Regions from separate parts of the Homo sapiens genome. Here regions 1 and 3 are each linked to region 2. The links are contacts of gene promoters, found by promoter capture Hi-C in blood cells and fetal thymus (Javierre and others, 2016). All regions are on one chromosome and are shown on one strand. Each heading gives the region's core, a stretch centred on a gene start or on the middle of the fragment in contact. The rest is flanking DNA. Distances are from core to core; before and after follow the strand shown. Region 1 overlaps DHX36 (DEAH-box helicase 36). Region 2 holds the start of CCNL1 (cyclin L1). Region 3 overlaps DHX36 (DEAH-box helicase 36).

Region 1 (4,255 bases), core at 1,228-3,727, 2.9 Mb after region 2:
TGTATATATTTATTATTTGTTAAATCCTGTTATGCTCTGAAAGCATTCTCTGTAATTAAAATTATTTACTATCTAGCTTGCAAAGTATTTTGATCTAATTGACTTCTCTATAAAGAAATACTGCTTTCTGTTTTCTTTTTGTGTGATAACTTTATAGAAAAATTTGTCATGATTAGACAGCTGAATTTTTCAAACAACTAGAATTTTTTTATTGGCTAAATCTAACTCTGGCCTTTCCTTCCCCCATTATTATAAACATTATTGTATAGTGTACTTATAATTTTAAAAAATGTGTGTGCATATATTTACCAATGAAGATAAGATATATACCAAAATATAACGTTATCATTTAGTGTATGTGATGGAGAGTGGGAAAAGGGTATATTATAGATTATTATAATTGACTTCGTTAACTTTCTAGTTTGAATTAATTATTCTCAAGGAAAGAGTTGCTAATGTATACACTTCCACTACCAGCTCAATTCCTTTTAAAGGAAATCTTTCCAGAACTTGAGTGTTTTTTCTCAAATTATGTTGAAAAAAATTTAGCCTTGATAATCAGTTGTATAGTTAACCACTATCATGGGGAGAAAATTGGCCTAACTCTGTGCTGAGAAATTGAGTTTTGAAACTCAGTTTATTAAATGCTTATCAATTTCTTGTTTTTTTCTTTTCATAAGAGTATAGATTTTGTTCTCATTAACTCTCTTAGTTGTATGGTGTCAACAATATAAATTTTTTTTCCCAATTATATAGTCTTCAACAGAATTGTTTTTACTTTTATTATCCCTGGCTAACTTTTAAACTTTTTATAATGAAACATTTTAAATATACAAAAAAACTAGAGACTTTTTTTTTTTTTTTGAGGTGGAGTCTCGCTCTGTTTCCCAGGCTGGAGTGCAGTGGCACGATCTCAGCTCACTGCAACCTCCGCCTCCCAGGTTCAAGCAGTTCCCTGCCTCAGCCTCCCGAGTAGCTGGGATTATAGGCACCCATCACCACACCTGGGTAATTTTTGTATTTTTAGTAGAGACAGGGTTTCACCATCTTAGCCAGGTTGGTCTTGAACTCCTGACCTTGTAATCCACCTGCCTTGGCCTCTCAAAGTGCTGGGATTGCGGGCGTGAGCCACTGCACCCAGCCAAAACTAGAGAATCTTAATGAATCCACGACTTCAGTGCCAACAATTATTTTTTCAGTCCTAGTTTTTTCTTAAAGTCAATTGCAGCTGTCACATTTCATTTCTAAATGTATAAGCAAGAATCTCTAAAGGCAATTTTCTATATAACCATCATGTCTTTATCATACCTAATCCTTAATACCATCTGATAATCCAGTCTGTAATCAGATTTTCCCATTTTTCTGAAAAGTGTCTTTCACAACTAGCCTGTTCAAACTATAGAAAGTGTCAACATCTTTTGATCTAGCTCTAGAACATTGCTCCCCTCCACTCCCTGCTTTTCCTCATGGTAATGTAAAGTCATGGAAAAGACCAGGCCATTTGTTCTCTAATAAGTCCAACTTTCTGAATTTGTGTGACTCTTTATGCTATCATTTCATTTGATTCTCTCTTACCTTTATTTCCTGTAACTCGAAAGTTATATCTGAAAGCTTGATTCAATTCAAGTATTTTTGGCTTGAATATTATAGTTGTAATATTTCATACTGTCACAGAGACAAGTAATTCAGAGGATTCTTTTTTAGCAACATCAGTTGCTTGGCAGCTGTTCACTACTTTTTATTTTTAAGATTCGTAAAATCTCTTCACAGTCAGAGTCCATGGGGATCATCATATCCTTTAGATAACAACAGTTCTTTTCTGGGGAAGTATAGCTGACTTGAATCATTTGGGCATTTAAGTCAGATTGTATTTTTGTAAGCATAGTTAAATGTGAAATTAACTCTTGCTTTCTTGATACTCTCCCTTTCACCCATCACTGTATTACACCAGACTTTCTGTGTTGGCTAATAATTGTGAATGGGCTTGAGCTATTTCATTTGGAAACTTAAAAAGTAGGAATTTCTTATATTTTTAACAAAATATGTGTAAAATGTGGGTCACTTTTGGAATGTATTATTATTATTATTATTATTATTTTTGAGACGGAGTCTCGCTCTGTCACCTAGGCTGGAGTGCAGTGGCGCGATCTCGGCTCACTGCAAGCTCCGCCTCCCAGGTTCACGCCATTCTCCTGCCTCAGCCTCCCAGGTAGCTGGGACTACAGGCGCCCGCCAACACGCCCAGCTAAGTTTTTGTATTTTTAGTATAGACGGGGTTTCACCGTGTTAGCCAGGATGGTCTTGATCTCCTGACCTCGTGATCCGCCCGCCTCGGCCTCCCAAAGTGCTGGGATTACAGGCATGAGCCACCGCGCCTGGCCTGGAATGTATTATTTTTAACAAGGACTATTTCATTATTTTCTAACTAGGACATGGGTATTTAATAAGTAATTTGCTCTAAAAATTTAGATATTATCGGTTTGATTAAAATAGTGAGGATTGCCAGGTGCAGGGCTCATGCCTGTAATCTGTAATCCCAGTACTTCGGAAGGCTGAGGTGGGTGGATTGCTTGAGCTTGGGAGTTCAAGACCAGCCTGGGCAACATGGCAAATCCCCATCTCTACAAAAAATACAAAAATTAGCCAAACATGGTTGTGCATGCCTGTGGTCTCAGCTACTCGGGAGGCTGAGGTGGGAGGATCACTTGAGCCCAGGGGGCAGAGGTTGCAGTGAGCAGAGATCACACCACAGCAACGGGCAACAGAATGAGACCCTGACTGAACAACAAAAAAATAGGATCACCCAAAGTGTACAAACGTATTCATGTTAAACAGAATTGTTGCCTATTCATTCAGTTTTTATTGGTGTAATTTGAAAAGATTACTCCCAACTTTTGAGCATTCTTTAAGAATTTGGGGAAAATACTTATCAATATGAAATAAACTAACAGAACAAAATGTTAGCTTGAACTTGGAGCGCTCAGAAAACAAGACTATAAAGAAATTAAGTTGGTCTGTTTGTATGTAGAAATAAAAATAAAGAATTTTTGGTTCACTTAAACACATGGGCAGTTTGTCAACTCAGATGGTTTAGCTGTTTTCATTAAATAATGTTCAATGTCTTATCAAAAAAAGAATTGAGTGGTTCAGCTTCTGAATTCATTGTCTCATATGTGTTTGATGGAGCTTTTCTGCAACTCTTTATCTTAAAATTTAATTCTCTTTAATTTTCAGATAAATTTTTAATTATACCTTTACATTCACTGATGCCTACAGTTAACCAGACACAGGTATGTTAAATGGATACATTTGTTAAATGTATTTCAAACTGAGGCAAGCTTTAAGGACTGCTTGTTACGTGTTTTCCTTTATTTTTTTTAAGGAGTATTTTCAAATAGTAATTCATGTAAAAAAATACTTCTTTGAGAACCTTTGCAAATGAGTCTTCAGGGGATGATTGCTCAAAAACTTGAATATCAGCGGATAACCCACAAATCAGATTAGTTTTGTCTACATTAGGAAAAAGTTTAAAGAATTGGTTTCACCAGTAACTTCGTTGAGTTTCCTGAGTAAGAGAAAAAGGTCTGTGAGTACTACTAAAAGTAACCAAACCTAGAAATTAATGATCTGTGACATACTACAGTTTGATGATGATTTGAGATTTAATTTCACAAAGCTAGTATATTCACAGGTATAAAATTTCTGTTTTAATAATGTATTATGAATGTTTGGCTCCATCAGATACAGGCGCTTTCCTAATTAGAGTGAACACTACATTCTCAGAGGCAGGATAATGTTATGATCTACAGTATTTGCAGGCTCTTGCAAAATGAAATTGATTAGAAAACCTGCTCCTCCCCCCATTTCTAGTTTATCCTTTTCTCTTTTTATAAGAAAATATCAAGATACTTTTCTTTGAGACCCTTTTAATATTTTTGTTGCTGGTACCTTAGTCATGAATTAGATACAGAGTACATACCTGAGAGAAGAGAGGGGGCAAGAAAGAAAACTCTTGATTCCAAAGACTGAAAGAGTATCCAGCATGGAAGTATTCATCTTCCACACCATAACCTAGTAAATTATGTATTCCTTTGCTGGAGAGTATGTGAATAGCCTGGGAAACATTTTCTGTATTGACTACCAGTTTTGTAAATGAAGGGATAAGTTTTTGCTTTTTGTTTGTTTGCATTATCGCCAGTGGTACTTGATTACCTATCTTCTTTCTACTTTAGTGACATTGTCGGGTTGTGGGGCA
Region 2 (4,586 bases), core at 284-2,783:
TGAACCCCGGAGGCGGAGGCTGCAGTGAGCCGAGATCGCGCCACTGCACTTCAGCTTGGGCGACAGAGTGAGACTCTATCTAAAAAAAAAGAAAAAAAAAATCAACTGATAACAGGCGATTAACAGGAGAAAAGGGATACATAACACCGGGGTAAAAGCAGGAGGATGATTACCCAGTAGCTTAATGGAGTACAGAAGATTTTATATCTTTTTTTCATAGGGGAAAGGGTAGATGAGAAATGTAGACATTTATTTTGAGGAGCAGCAAATGATTATTAGGAACAATGAATGGACAGAAATTAGTAAATAATTTTCTTTTGAGTAATCTTGTGAAAAAGTCCCTCCAGGAATGGCTGCATTTCTGAGTCTTTTTGAAATAGGATACGAGATTTCAGCGAGGGGAGGAATGCGATTGATTCTTCTACAAAGAGGCTTCTCTAGTCAGGAAAGGAAATTTCAGAGAGTACCTCCCTGCACTTGGGAAAAGTGGGAGCAACAAGTCAAGGTTGGGGGACCTGCATTATGAGGCAGCTTCTAAAGCCTCTGTCTTTGGGGTATCGCTTTCTGAGCGTCAAGAGTAAAACGTGATGCATTCCTTTCCTTCCAACCTAGATTCTAGTAGTTTAGATCAGTATCATTGTTTTTACTTCAAGGTTCAGGAAACGCTGGAAATTGCTAGCTAATATCACAGGAAAAAAAACAAAAAACACGAGGTTGACCTCACCCTACCCGCGGTAGGTAACCATGTATGAATAGAGACTCCCAGGCATAATCAAATTACCTCTGTCAAGTCCTCGCCCTAAGACTATTTTTGGAAACTAGGGATTTTCCAGATTACTGAAAGCCGTGGCGGTGTCAAAGGCCGGGCAGGAGTTTCGCAAGCGGAGCTATGAAAGCAGCCACTCTCGCGGTCATTCCTATGCCTCCGCCCTACTTCCCCATACTGGCAAAAACACGCTCCCCGGGGAGCTTTCATTTGGGAACCGATAGGGTCCACAGCCCTGTGTTCTTCAAATACTGTAAAGCAGCCCTCTCCAGATTCCTTGAGGGTCACTTTATATTACACATTCGTCCACACAGGACAACAAAGTCACCACTTCCACCCGCCAAAGCGCGCTCAGGTCGGCCGCCACTTCCCTTGGTACACGCGGAACGCAAGCCGCGCCGAGGCTAAAGGAAGAGGCCGGAATGCAGGGCGAAGGGGCGCAGAGATGCTAGCCAATGCTGCCACCTCTATTTTGGGTATAAGGGATCTTGTAAAGCTCCGTTATTCGTGTGGCTATCACAAACAAGGTGGTTTCGACCGGCCTTGGCTAGAGAAGGCCTCCTCAGCCTCTGAGGATCCCAAGGTCTGTCGCAGCACCCAACACTCCCCTCGCAGGCCCAGATGCCGAGGGCGGAGGCGCGGCCTGGAGGGACTAGTTGGCGCGCGGCTGCCCGGCGTGGTGACGTCAGGGCGGAAGCGCACGCGGCGTGAAGCGGCCCAGAACCCGGCGGTCACGGGAATATCCGTCGCGCCGAGAACGCTGGTTAGTCTTGTTTCGGGTTCCGGCTGCGTTGGGCTTGCGTGCGGCTCGCTAAGACTATGGCGTCCGGGCCTCATTCGACAGCTACTGCTGCCGCAGCCGCCTCATCGGCCGCCCCAAGCGCGGGCGGCTCCAGCTCCGGGACGACGACCACGACGACGACCACGACGGGAGGGATCCTGATCGGCGATCGCCTGTACTCGGAAGTTTCACTTACCATCGACCACTCTCTGATTCCGGAGGAGAGGCTCTCGCCCACCCCATCCATGCAGGATGGGCTCGACCTGCCCAGTGAGACGGACTTACGCATCCTGGGCTGCGAGCTCATCCAGGCCGCCGGCATTCTCCTCCGGCTGCCGCAGGTCAGTGCTCCGGCCCCGGGCCGGCCGGGCGCTCCTCTCCTCTCCTCCGTCCCCTACGCCGCATCTCAGTATCACCGTGCCCCGGGAGGGTGGGGACGGTTCCTTCAGGCTTTCCCGTTCGGGGCCCAGCCGCGGCCGGGGCGTGCCGGGGCGGGGGGCTGCGGAGGCGGAGGGAGGACTTGGCAGCGGGCTGTTCGCAGCGGCGGCGGCGGCGGGAGGGGAAAGGGAAGCGATCGGCGGCACAAAATGGCGGCGGCGCCTGGAGCGGGCCCGCCTGACCCCTGCGCTTCCGTTCTCCTCTCTTGTCTGCAGGTGGCGATGGCAACGGGGCAGGTGTTGTTTCATCGTTTTTTCTACTCCAAATCTTTCGTCAAACACAGTTTCGAGGTAAGCACAGCGGAGGCGGGTAAAAGGGATTTCTTCATCCGGAAATGGGCAGAGTAGGGGTAGTGTCAGCAGCCAGCTTTTCCAGAAAGGGAGTGGTTTAGTTTAGGCCTTTGTACCTACTTCTCACTCGCCAGGAAGTGGAAACCTTTAGAATGTGGTTCAAAATCGATCACGAGCCTAAGTGCCCTCTTAACGAAAAGTACAGTTTTCAACCAAATGCAGAACTCCTGTAAGATTGAGTTTGACTCTGGAACCAAAATTAAGATGAGTTAAACAACAAAAAGTATAGTACTAGCATAGCTGGTAGACTTACGGCATAGAGATGTCTTCTCTAATTTTACTAAAGGTTGTCCCAATTGTGTTCTAAATTTTATTCTTCAAAGTGAGTTTAATCTAACAATGGCTTTTGTGGCTCATGGGTTCTTTCAGATTGTTGCTATGGCTTGTATTAATCTTGCATCAAAAATCGAAGAAGCACCTAGAAGAATAAGAGATGTGATTAATGTATTCCACCACCTCCGCCAGTTAAGAGGAAAAAGGTAAGATTGGCATTATTGAACATAGTATCTCTTGCTACTGCTGTACCGTGCACCAGTCATCAAATCAAAACATCTTTCCTTTCAAGTGAATACGGATGCAAAAGAAAACGGACTTTAATTTAGGTGTTAAAGTTCATATAGGAACACTGATACTTAAAATAATTTGAAAAAAGAAACATAATTAACCGGTTATCTAAAGTTTGTAGAGGCAGTTGCATTTATGGACAATCCTAACAGTGCTGTGAAGCCAGGCCTGTGGCTTAAGATTAAACAAGAAAGGGAGTACATTTGGCTCAAGTGTGAGTGTATTCTGTAAGTTATTTTTCCTCTCCCCTCTCTGGAAGACTGAAGGCTGGAAGTTTAAACACTGTAGTTTAAGTTAATATTGTGGCAAAGTTCTGTGTAGATTATGTTTTTCTACTCGAAGTCCCAGTTAATTCTTTATCAATTGAGGTTGGCTTTTGTTAGAGTACTTCTCAACATTGAACTACGATAAATCGAATAATACCGGATCTGAAAGGACTGCAGGATGATAAAGTTTGAAGTTTGAAGTCAAAGGGATTAAACAGGTATTTTGTTTTGGTTAGATACAGTCTCAGTGAGTGGGTTAGAAAATTAACAAGTAAGATTGATTGGGTTGCATTTAGATAGGGCCATTTATTTGATGTTGTAAGAAAATACAGAGACTGAAATAGTATCTCCTAGGTGTTGTGGTAACATAATTTTATGTGGACCTATGTGTTCCTGTGAGGCAGTACCAAAAAGTTTGTTGCAGGACTTCCTGCATCTACAGGTGACTTCCAGTACATGCTGCAGAATGATATATTTGGTGTAGAATAGTTTTTGCATTCACTCTTTAAGGAATTGTAGTGATGTTAGACAAATTGTACTGAGTTTGAAAGGAAGTTATTAAAAGGATTATAAGTTGTTCTGGGGGTTGGGTATGTTGGTTAGTGCTGTTAGTATTCTATATGAGTAGTCCTTATTGGCTGAATCTGTAAGTTGGCAGTAATGGAACTATTCAGACAAGCAAATATTAAAGCAACTTTAAGATGACTAGTCTATTCTGTGAGTCTACAGACAGTTCTTTTTTAAAAAAAGAGTATCCTAGTCAAAAAGTCTGCAACAGTTTTCCTACATACTTTTTCTCCCCCATCTTTTCTCATTCACCTTAACTGTGTCCAGGGATAGAGTACTTTTTAAATTCTAAAATATCTTTTAGTTTGTTGATGAGTCCCTGGGAATTGGGAAGATTTCAAATTGGTCTTTGGTATGGTCTGAGGTTAAATCTGTATTTAGATACCTGGCTGATTCTTCAGGATGTTTAAAGTAATGACACTAATACAAGGCTCTATCTTTAGTCAAAGGTTTCTCTTTGCTTAAAGGAAATGGTTTTCTAGTATTCTTTGAACCATTGAGCCAACTATTATGTAATCACATGATTATCTTCTGTGGAATTTTCCTGTGAGACTAGTTTACTTCGTTGATGTTAGAATAGGTCTTAACTGTAAAAACCATGGAATTTAAAATAATATAATCTCACCTGATTGTTGTGTCTGATGTAACTTTGTTTTTTGGGTCATTATTACAGAGAAACTGATTTTGTTTCAATCTTAGAAGTCTGATTATAGCAAAATTTAAAAGGAGTTGTTAATTGCATGGAAGCCTTTTTTTAAAGCAGGATGTAAAAGTGTTTCTATGCATATTACAAGTTTACTCAAGCACGTAACTTGTATATGTTATTAACTTCAACTCTTTTTTCCCTTGCAACC
Region 3 (4,562 bases), core at 1,686-4,185, 2.8 Mb after region 2:
TCCTATTGTGACCTCCATCACCACCACATGTACACAAAAATGTACAGTAACACAGAGCAGCTTCCTTTTAATGATTCATCTTACTGCTGCTCTCTCAGGATCCACCCTTGAATTTGAAAACAGTTCTTTGATTCTTTCTTCCTTTTTGTCTCTCCCCAACTTCCACCAAATAGTCATTAAGTCCTGTGGTTTCTTTCTTTCGATTTTTGACTGTTTTCTTTCCATTTATACTTTTACCTTCCTCCTCCTTTGGTTCTTTAACCTAACACACTCTAATTTTCACCACTCCGCGTGTGTTTCCTTTTGCCTGTGGATTTATATGCACGTTAGAACCTAAGGTTTGTAGTCCCATAAATTTTGAAGAATCTGTTTTTCAACTTTTCAACTTACTATATCTAAATATAAAAGTCTCCAAAGAATTGGGTTTTGGCATTCATTCTCTTTTTTTTTTTTTCACCTTGGACATTTCTTAGATGCGTAAAGTTTCTGCAAAGTTTCATAGTTCACCAAGGACCTTTATATTTGTCCAGTCTGTTGTGTTTTATTCTCATTCTTTGAAGCAACTGCGTCATTTGCCACATTGGATCACCTTATAAGCACTGATGAATTTTATTTACTCCTTCTGAGCTCAGCCTTACTTACCAATTTATTCTTCTGTTTAGTGTAAGAACTTTCAAATGTTCATTACAACCAAACTATTTCCAGTTTTCAACTTTTTTCGTAAACCATTTGAGTTTTAATAACTTTGAAATTTTAAGATAAGGAGAAATTCATAATAATTAGTATGTGAGGGTTTGGGGTAAGAGAACCAGAGTTGTAGGAAGAGACATAAATGAGCTTTCTTTGCCAATCATATTAGGGCTAATTTTATAAATGCTTGTTGGAAAAGGTCTAGAAGGATATGTACGAAAATTTTAACAATTAATTAGGTCTAGGAAGGGGGGTATTGGGCTAGAGGACACCTGTGGATAACTTTCTTTTATATGTATTTGTTGAACATATATTACTTAGCCTTTATTTTCTTCAGTATCAAATAATTTTTGCATATGCTTTCTTATGTTGACAAGGATGCTTTTTTCTTTGCACAAACTAGAGAGCTGTAGTACACATGGATGAACGACGAGAAGAACAAATTGTACAGTTACTGAATTCTGTTCAAGCGAAGAATGATAAAGAGTCAGAAGCACAGATATCCTGGTTTGCTCCTGAGGATCATGGGTACGACAAGAAATATTTTTTTAAAGAATAGGCAAAGAGTAACACTTTAATAATAAAAATAACATCTTTATTTTCTTCGATAAGTGAATTTTAACCTTTACGTACTTTTTTTCCTTATGTAGATTAAACAGATTTAGAAAATGACTTTTAAAAATTTAGATGGCATGTTTCCATAGGAAAGCTAAATGGTATGAATAATAGTGTATCTGGATATGAGATGTATTAAGTTGTTATTTATTGTTCTCCCTACCTGTCCTCTTTGTATTTATGAAATTATTCTGTCTGGGAGATCTGCAAGAAGTGAAATTGCTACCGTTTTAGAAAGATTACAAGAACTGTATCATTTAGAGGAAAAATTAGTACAAGTATTTCAAAGACTGTGTATTGTAGCATCCTATTTGTAGCTCAGAAAGGGTGGCAAGAAAAAAAGATGTTGTGACATAAAACAAGTTCGAGAAATCCAGAAAAAGAGAAACACTGTAAGTAACCGCAGTGAAGGAATGACTATTCTGTGGATTTTTATTTTTAACTATCACAAGGAATAACTTAATCTGGCAATATCTATTTAAAGGGAAGAAAAATTTGAATTTATTATAAGAATCTAAGTATATTTTCATAATTACTGTACTAAGAGAAAAGAAAAGCTTTGGATTTGGATGACTTTGAAATATTTCAACAGCGTATTGTTTTGTTTTGTTTTGTTCCAGTGTTTGAGTGGCTCATCTGACCTTTCTTCCTTTCTTATTTTGTCAAAACAGATACGGTACTGAAGTTTCTACTAAGAACACACCATGCTCAGAGAACAAACTTGACATCCAGGAAAAGAAGTTGATAAATCAAGAAAAAAAAATGTTTAGAATCAGGAACAGATCATATATTGACCGAGATTCTGAGTATCTCTTGCAAGAAAATGAACCAGATGGAACTTTAGACCAAAAATTATTGGAAGATTTACAAAAGAAAAAAAATGACCTTCGGTATATTGAAATGCAGGTAGTAGAAAGATGTCAAAAAATATTTTGTCATTTTTTTCTTACACTTTATAAAAATGTATGTATGGTTAGAGGTAGCTGCATGGCATAGATCAGTGAGATCCTCAACAAGACATCCCTGTGGGAATTAATTTCTTTTCGAATGGTAGAGAAAAGCAGTGGGAATGGAAGTTACACATAACCTACAGTATCCTATCTCATCCACAGAAGCTTATGTGGTGAGAAGAAATGTTTGAGAAATGCTAGTGCCAATGAAAAAAAAACTTACTCTTCAGCTTTTCTAGGCCAGTTTAGTGAGGTGCCATGTGCAGTAAAGGCAGTTAAAATTGTAAAGCTTGTTCCAGATTACTTAATACATCTTCTTTTTATAGATGATAAAATTAAATATTTCAAAAATTATGTGATGTGCTTTGTTCACTAACATTTTAAATACAGGACTATCACAACACCTGAGATCTCCTGAATTCTGATATTTTCTTTCTATGCTAGGCAAGATATTTTAAGGTCCCTTTCAGTTAAAACATAAAATTGTGTGATTTGTGGGTGTTCTAGAGATGTAATAAAGTGGTCTCATGTATGTATGTATATGTTTAAGAGAAATTACTGAGGAAACTCTGAGGGCCATATCTTTAATATGTAAATACATACTGCTGTCTTTGATAAAGGAAGGATATAGCACCTCCTATAGGAAAGAAAGGATCCCTTGGCTCACTGATGAAAGCTGAATTTCCTTAATAGGAAAGAAAGGATCCATTGACTGTTACTGATGACAGTTGGATTTCCGTATTAGAATAGATAAGCTGAGGTTGTCCAGGGCCAAATTGTGTAGCTCTTTGATGCCTGTTGGGTAAAAATGTGATTTGAAAATGGAGGAAATTTCAGGATGAATTAATTGAGAATCTTCTGGTTGAGAAGAGCTGCTTTAACAGCCTTAACAGGAGGAATTAGTGTCTTTCTCTTTGCTGTATATGATGGACAGAACTCATATACTAAAGATGGGTGATTGATCTAGTTCAGAGAAAGAAAAATGTGTAAAACATTTAAAAAGTTGGTGGTCTTCCTATTTCCCATATGTTGTCATAAATGCTTCATGTGTACTATATTATTTAAGCTTCTCAACAACCTTGAATAAGAGACTACATGTCTGTTGTAGATGAGGAAAAAGATTTAAGTGACCTACCTGAGGTTGCATAGCTCATAACAGAATCAGATCTAAAATTCAGCTGTGTTTAACAACTCAGCTTTTTAATCATTTTTAGCATGTGCAATATTTTTTCTTTATGTTCTTTAATAAACATTAATTTTCTACTTACTGGATGCCAGTTACTGTGCTATATATGTGTGCGTGTATGTATATATATATATTTAAGACAGGGTCTCACTCTGTCACCCAGGCTAGAGTACAGTGGTGCCATCATGGCTCACTGCAGCCTCGACCTCCTGGGCTCAAGTGATCCTTCCACCTTAGCCTCCTGAGTAGCTGGCACTACAGGCATGTGCCAGTACGCCTGGTTAATTTTTGTATTTTTTGTAGAGACAGGGTTTTGCTTTGTTGCCCAGGCTGGTCTTGAACTCCTGGGCTCAAGCAATCCTCCTACCTCCACCTCCCCAAATTCTGTAATTATGGGAGTGAGCCACACCAGCCAGTTATGCTTATTACTGTTTTTGAAGAGTAATAAGATATTTCCTGTCCTCAGAGAGCTTATAGTTGAATTATCTCACATCTTCGTTATGGTCAAAAGTTAACAAAGTAGAAACTTTGGCTGCCTTGGGAAAGAATATTGGACTATACCTCTCTTTCCAGTGGCATTTACATGTATAAAGCAAATACGATTAATGCCAGTTTGAAATGCAGTGGGATAGCTTGTGTATAATTATGTGTTAAGATGGTAACATTTGACTACCTGGGGTGTTAATACTTATGTCATTAAAAATAGTTTTTAGATAATTTAAAAATTATTACAAGATAAGTAAGTTATTACAAGGTAAGATAAGTGTGGTAGCTTTTGTTATTTTAAATGACTAGAATTCATTTCAGTCTTCACATTGACTGTTATTTTTATGGTATTGGTAAGAATTACCTGACCATAACAAACATGGCAATAATATAATACTAGATTACCAAAGACAGTTCTTTATTTATTTTATATATATATATATATATATATATATATATATATATATATATATATATTTTAATTATTTCCTTTTTTTTTTTTGAGATGGAGTCTTGCTCTGTCACCCAGGCTGGAGTGCCGTGGCACGATCTCGGCTCACCACAACCTCCACCAATTCTCCTGCCTTAACCTCCCAAGTAGCTGGGACTACAGGCGTGTGCCACTATGCCCAGCT

The links. The method cuts DNA at HindIII sites, captures the fragments that hold promoters and counts their contacts. A CHiCAGO score of 5 or more calls a contact.
Region 1: a contact is called between a fragment that was not itself captured here and the fragment with the promoter of CCNL1 in region 2, in 2 of 17 cell types (non-activated CD4 T cells and total B cells). The highest score is 6.1, in non-activated CD4 T cells.
Region 3: a fragment that was not itself captured here is called in contact with the fragment with the promoter of CCNL1 in region 2 in 1 of 17 cell types (total B cells); the score reaches 5.3 in total B cells.

Annotation. Positions count from the first base shown.
Region 1 is chr3:154,294,319-154,298,573 of GRCh38, reverse strand. DHX36 (DEAH-box helicase 36) reads left to right here. Exons shown (of 25, transcript NM_020865.3): 13 at 3,235-3,290. Among named protein-coding and RNA genes, the nearest start is that of DHX36, 28 kb to the left of the region's middle. The HindIII fragment of the contact is 1,727 bases long and covers 1,614-3,340 here.
Region 2 is chr3:157,157,094-157,161,679 of GRCh38, reverse strand. It overlaps CCNL1 (cyclin L1), which reads left to right and starts at 1,533. Exons shown (of 11, transcript NM_020307.4): 1 at 1,533-1,888; 2 at 2,201-2,275; 3 at 2,705-2,814. The coding sequence starts at 1,586. RefSeq lists enhancers at 672-731, 752-801, 889-1,618, 2,252-2,321 and a silencer at 1,902-2,111. The HindIII fragment of the contact is 11,903 bases long and covers 1-4,586 here.
Region 3 is chr3:154,312,695-154,317,256 of GRCh38, reverse strand. It overlaps DHX36 (DEAH-box helicase 36), which reads left to right. Exons shown (of 25, transcript NM_020865.3): 2 at 1,094-1,218; 3 at 1,977-2,211. Among named protein-coding and RNA genes, the nearest start is that of DHX36, 9.5 kb to the left of the region's middle. The HindIII fragment of the contact is 777 bases long and covers 2,547-3,323 here.